Linked DNA regions of Homo sapiens: region 1 is linked to region 2. The links are contacts of gene promoters, found by promoter capture Hi-C in human tissues and cell types (Jung and others, 2019). All regions are on one chromosome and are shown on one strand. The core of a region is centred on a gene start or on the middle of the fragment in contact, and the rest is flanking DNA. Distances in the headings are between cores, read along the strand shown.

What was found. The method cuts DNA at HindIII sites, captures the fragments that hold promoters and counts their contacts. A contact is called where the count stands out against the background at its distance.
Region 1: a fragment that was not itself captured here is called in contact with the fragment with the promoter of SNAP91 in region 2 in 4 of the 25 tissues and cell types used here (H1 embryonic stem cells, heart left ventricle, mesendoderm cells and 1 more).

What each region holds. Positions count from the first base shown.
Region 1 is chr6:83,802,066-83,805,331 of GRCh38, reverse strand. No RefSeq gene overlaps it. Among named protein-coding and RNA genes, the nearest start is that of RIPPLY2, 50 kb to the left of the region's middle. The HindIII fragment of the contact is 5,262 bases long and covers 1-3,266 here.
Region 2 is chr6:83,707,659-83,710,683 of GRCh38, reverse strand. It overlaps SNAP91 (synaptosome associated protein 91), which reads left to right and starts at 1,583. Exons shown (of 30, transcript NM_001242792.2): 1 at 1,583-1,839; 2 at 2,727-2,886. The coding sequence starts at 2,757. LOC105377879 (a long non-coding RNA gene) reads right to left here and starts at 1,242. Exons shown (of 3, transcript NR_136251.1): 1 at 965-1,242. RefSeq lists silencers at 1,311-1,370, 1,701-1,910, 2,320-2,614. The HindIII fragment of the contact is 7,193 bases long and covers 1-3,025 here.

The DNA of each region.
Region 1 (3,266 bases), core at 390-2,889, 95 kb before region 2:
TCTGGATTGACTTAGGTGAAGTGCTCATTAGAAGCAATAGAAAGAACTGGATACTTCCACCTCCTTTCTGGATCTATGTTTCTTTTATTCAGAAGAGTTCACCAGTTTTTAAATGATATATGTTATGCCACAGTATATTTTTAGTTAATTTCTGCCTCTCTGATAATTCCCCAATCTTCAAAAATGATGGAAGGAGCTGGGAACAGGACAGTTTGTAATTCAAGTAGACCCCACTAGAGTGCACCATATGAACCAAAAAGTTAATTTAACAAATTTTTTAGGTCTAAGGATGGTATCATTCATCACAACCCTAATCATCAAGTAACAACTTCTAAACATATAAGCAAATATGTGTATAGAAAAATATTGACTTGAAAACATAAGAAAAAAACACAGGATTTATGTTTACTGAATTTATACCTATTCTACTCCATGTGACCTGGCTTCAGGGAACACTAATGTTACCTTTTGCAAAGATAAAAATCATTTAACATGTTTGTGGCATGATAAACAAGCATAGATGTACTTACATGAATGTGACATACTACAGACTCTTATACTAAGGGTTTGATAGGCATCAATTTTATGTCCTGATAGAATGCTGGGGAGAGGAAAGTTGAATGTTTCAGAACAAAGAGAAAACAAAATCAAACACCAGAAAACCCTAGCATTGAAACAGAAATCATGGAAGACTAAAGTCAGCTGAAGGAACTAAGCACTAAAGCTTAGTTTCTAGTTATAAATGGTCTTAAATGAAAAGATAAATGCTTCCAGAGCCCTTGAGGAAAAAGGTAAGGAAAATAAGAGATCCATCTGGGAGGACTCTACAGGGATCATGATCTCAGGAGGAGCAGAGGCCATGGTGGCCCTGGAACACGATGGCATGCTATGTACTCTTAGCAACCTGCTGTGGCTCTAAATGTTAATTTTTAAAAAAGAGTTGATGTAAGAGAACATATCAGAGTAGGAAAAGGAAAAGAGATGGTTTAACTTTTAAAGGAAGAAAATTGCTGCTACACAGCTTAAGCAAAGAAGTCTTTATACTCTTCATTCCTCTACCAAATCACTGAAATCCTTCTCAGGGGGCAAATCATACTCCTGAAAATCACTCCTCAGGAAAAGTAGAGTATGCTCAAGGCTCAGAAGGAAATAAAGGTGAATTGGGAGAAATGTCTCCCTGGCTACAAAACTCTGAGAAGTATTAGTGAAAACTGCTGATGATTCCATTAAAACTGCTTCTCCAGTTATATGGAATCAACAACTGAATAGATCACAAATGGAAAGAAAAATAAGGATTTACAAAGAGAAGCAAAGAACATCAAAAGCACAGGCCATTCAAGCAGAAATTATATGAATGCAGCAGCCATATGCTCACCTGCAAGTTTAAATTAATTCTGATTTTAAAAATTATCTTTACCTGGCTGAACCACAGAATTCACATGCTTAGAAGCAATGAGAAGTTATCAAATCTTTGTGTTTAATTTTAAACCAGATACATCATTTTACCGCAAGGGACCCAGAACCAGCCACGTATATAAGAAATGAATAGAGTTACAGCTTAGGAGGAGGAGCCAAGATGGCCGAATAGGAACAGCTCCGGTCTACAGCTCCCAGCGTGAGCGACGCAGAAGACGCGTGATTTCTGCATTTCCATCTGAGGTACCGGGTTCATCTCACTAGGGAGTGCCAGACAGTGGGCGCAGGTCAGTGGGTGCGCGCACCATGCGCGAGCCGAAGCAGGGCGAGGCATTGCCTCACTTGGGAAGCGCAAGGGGTCAGGGAGTTCCCTTTCTGAGTCAAAGAAAGGGGTGACGGACGGCACCTGGAAAATCGGGTCACTCCCACCCGAATACTGCGCTTTTCCGACGGGCTTAAAAAACGGTGCACCACGAGATTATATCCTGCACCTGGCTCGGAGGGTCCTACGCCCACGGAGTCTGGCTGATTGCTAGCACAGCAGTCTGAGATCAAACTGCAAGGCGGCAGCGAGGCTGGGGGAGGGGCGCCCGCCATTGCCCAGGCTTGATTAGGTAAACAAAGCAGCCTGGAAGCTCGAACTGGGTGGAGCCCACCACAGCTCAAGGAGGCCTGCCTGCCTCTGTAGGCTCCACCTCTGGGGGCAGGGCACAGACAAACAAAAAGACAGCAGTAACCTCTGCAGACTTAAATGTCCCTGTCTGACAGCTTTGAAGAGAGCAGTGGTTCTCCCAGCATGCAGCTGGAGATCTGAGAACAGGCAGACTGCCTCCTCAAGTGGGTCCCTGACCCCTGACCCCTGAGCAGCCTAACTGGGAGGCAGCCCCCAGCAGGGGCACACTGACACCTCACACGGCAGGGTACTCCAACAGACCTGCAGCTGAGGGTCCTCTCTGTTAGAAGGAAAACTAACAAACAGAAAGGACATCCACACCAAAAACCCATCTTTACATCACCATCATCAAAGACCAAAAGTAGATAAAACCACAAAGATGGGGAAAAAACAGAACAGAAAAACTGGAAACTCTAAAAAGCAGAGCACCTCTCCTCCTCCAAAGGAACGCAGTTCCTCACCAGCAACAGAACAAAGCTGGATGGAGAATGACTTTGACGAGTTGAGAGAAGAAGGCTTCAGACAATCAAATTACTCTGAGCTACGGGAGGACATTCAAACCAAAGGCAAAGAAGTTGAAAACTTTGAAAAAAATTTAGAAGAATGTATAACTAGAATAACCAATACAGAGAAGTGCTTAAAGGAGCTGATGGAGCTGAAAACCAAGGCTCGAGAACTATGTGAAGAATGCAGAAGCCTCAGGAGCCGATGCGATCAACTGGAAGAAAGGGTATCAGCGATGGAAGATGAAATGAATGAAATGAAGCAAGAAAGTCTAGAGAAAAAAGAATAAAAAGAAATGAGCAAAGCCTCCAAGAAATATGGGACTATGTGAAAAGACCAAATCTACGTCTGATTGGTGTACCTGAAAGTGATGGGGAGAATGGAACCAAGTTGGAAAACACTCTGCAGGATATTATCCAGGAGAACTTCCCCAATCTAGCAAGGCAGGCCAACGTTCAGATTCAGGAAATACAGAGAACGCCACAAAGATACTCCTCGAGAAGAGCAACTCCAAGACACAAAATTGTCAGATTCACCAAAGTTGAAATGAAGGAAAAAATGTTAAGGGCAGCCAGAGAGAAAGGTCGGGTTACCATCAAAGAGAAGCCCATCAGACTAACAGCGGATCTCTCAGCAGAAACCCTACAAGCCAGAAGAGAGTGGGGGCCAATAT
Region 2 (3,025 bases), core at 334-2,833:
CTCCAAAAAGTTTCCTTCTGCCCCTTTGCAGTCCCCTCCCCCAATGCCACCGTCACCTGACTCGGCACCTGATGTGTTTTCTGTTTCTATAGTTTTGACTTTTCCAGAATGTTACATAAATGAAATCAAAATAATAAGTAGAATTTTTGATAGAGCTTCTTTCCCTTCGTCTAATGAATTTGAGATTCATGAATGGTATTAGTTTGTTTCTTGTTATTGCTAAGTAGTATTCCATTATGTGGATATACCATATTTTGTTTATTCATTTACTAGTAGAATAACATTTGGCTTTCCTCCAGTTTGGGGCCATTATATTAAGCTGCTATAAAACTGGAGTACAAGTTTTTTTAATAGAATTGCGTTTTTATTTCCCTTGTAAATATGGTAAGACTAGTACTTGAGACAATAGTGCTCTTAAGCTGTCTCTCTTTAGTCATTAAGCTTCCAATTAGTCCTAGAATCAGTCTCAGTAGTTAGGAAATCATGACTGCATACTGAACACTGTACCAGGTGAAAGAGAGGAATATATAACAAAACGTTGAGATCGATAGGTATCGATATATGGCTTCAAGGCCGAGCAGAAGCCACCCGAAGCAAGGAGAAAAAATGCCAGGAAAGCTCACAAATATAGTTTTGATCTTCATGCTACTGTGAGAATTAAAAAAAAAGGTGAACATAAATAACAACCTTTGAAAATGTCAACACGTGAAGCTATTAACCAACTCCACATCCCTGTTTAGAAATTCCTGCTTACTATTCGAATATACACTTGACATACAATTGACGGACGTTCCAACACTATATTTAATTGGCAGAAATTACTTCTTAAGGGTACAAAGGGTTTTCTTTATGCACGCAAATGATTACTGTCGAAGGTAATCTGGGACTCGATTAACGGCTGTGTTAATTATTCTCCCTTCAGCAGACCTCAGTATCCGTTTAAGACTAAAGTGGCTAGAATTACCTGCCCACCCGGGCTCCCAGTTGTAACTGAGACAAGCGGAGGAGCCTGAGGAGCTGAAGACGCACAGGTGACGGTCGCGGATGGCCGGCAGGATCTGACATTTAAAATCGCCCTGCTCATCTGGGCCTCGGAGCCTTTGACAGGCGGGCGTGTCAGCGACAGTGTGGGGAAGGGGCTGGGCTCCGCCAGGCAGCGCGCGACGACGCCCTTGCCTTGGCCTTCACAGAGTAGAACCCGAGAAGCCCACTCGCCCGTCTTGGCCAACGCCCCCAACGCCCAGGGCTCCCCCCGCAGTCGGCGGGCAGGTGTGCGTGGTGCGCGAGCCCAGTGCGTGCCGGGTGCGGCGCCAGCAGCGGAGGGGCGGCCCGGCGCCCAGCGGAGAGCCGCTGGCTGGGTGGGTGTCGGCCTCCCCGCCTCCTTCTTCTCCCCGCCGGCTTGCCGGGGATGCTTGCGCGAGGCGCCCCCTCGCCTTTAAGCTCCCGGCCCCGGGGGGCGGTGTGTGTGAGTAGCTGGGAGGGGGCCGCGAGGCGCTCCGCCGAGGGCTCGTCCGGGTTTGTCCGCCGCCGTCACCTGACTCGTCGGAGGAGCCACAGCTGAGGTGGGGGCGGGGATGGGGACGCAGCTCGGAGCGCTAGAGAGACGCGGCGGCGCTGGCAGAAGAGGCGGCGGCGGGCGGGTACTGGCTTCTGGGGCCAGGGGCCAGGGGCGGTGGGCGCCGGGACCGCGGAGCTGAGGAGCGGGGCCCGGCCAGGGCTGGAGACTTTGCGCCCGGGGGCACCGGGGCTACGCGCGGTCGCACACATCCACCGGCGCGGCTTCCCTCGGCGGCCCGGGCTCCGCTCATCCTGCGGCGGGCGGCGCCGCTCAGGGGCGGGGTGAGTACCCGCGGCCGTACTCGGCCCCCTCCCCGCGCCAGGGTCTCGCGGGGATCCGCAGAGGATAATCCCAGGGTGCGGAGAAGGGCAGCGGCCGAGTGACAGCTCCGCGGAGCGCTCCAGGGCGGGCGGGGGACTGGGCTTCGCTGTCAGCCCGGCTCCTCTCCAAAGCCAGGAAGGGTGAGGCGCCCCAAGACTCCGGCGCCTCCGCAGAGCTCCCGGGCGGCCCCTGCGGCAGGGATTTGGAACCGGGGGGAAGGGGCCCGGGCGATGGGCCTCGGCGAGGCTTTGGAGCCGGCGGCGAGGAAGGAAGGGGAGGCGAGGGCATAACATGGCGCAACGCTAGGATAATCTCCTTCGCGACTGAGGGAGGACGAGCCCTTTGCTGCAGCAGCGCGAGGAGGAGGAGGGAGGCAGCCAGGGCTTGGGTATCCGATGCATTCCCCGAAGCCTGCGGGCTGCTAGGAGGAAAGTCTGCTGAGGTGGGAGATGGGCACCGGTGGGTGCGGCGCCCAGGGAATAACCCCAACGCACGTTGTGGCTAGTCCAGCACCCGCGGGTCAGGTTGCGGGGAAAGTGCTGATTGACAGGGGGGTCCCCAGGGGGTGAGTCTGGCCCTATGTGGGGGCCGGGGGAGAATGGGGACGGTGTCACGATGCTGCGACTGGAGCCCACGCTGGGGTTCCGTGACGGCCCTACTCACGGCCAAGACTCCCTGGACCGCATCGCAGGAGCGGGGCTTGGCGCGTTGCTGGCTCCGAGAGGTGGTGCCAGGGTGGGGATGGAGGAGGAGAGAGCCGCCGCGCGGCTGGAGGAGGCAAGGCCTGGGTGCTTGGAGGGTAGGGTCTGCGGATTAAAGCCGGACCGTCTCCCCTTGTTTCCTGCAGAAGAGGAGGCGGTAGACGCGACCACAGAAGATGTCGGGCCAAACGCTCACGGATCGGATCGCCGCCGCTCAGTACAGCGTTACAGGCTCTGCTGTAGCAAGAGCGGTCTGCAAAGCCACTACTCATGAAGTAATGGGCCCCAAGAAAAAGCACCTGGACTGTAAGCATCTCTTTATATAAGAGGGACATGCGCACGGCAGAGGCGCCTGGGATGCTGGTGGTGCGGCCTGCGCTCTTGGTCCATAATGCTGTGGCCTCTGATACTCCCAGCCAGGTTGCCCCTGAGCTGAAATTCTTCA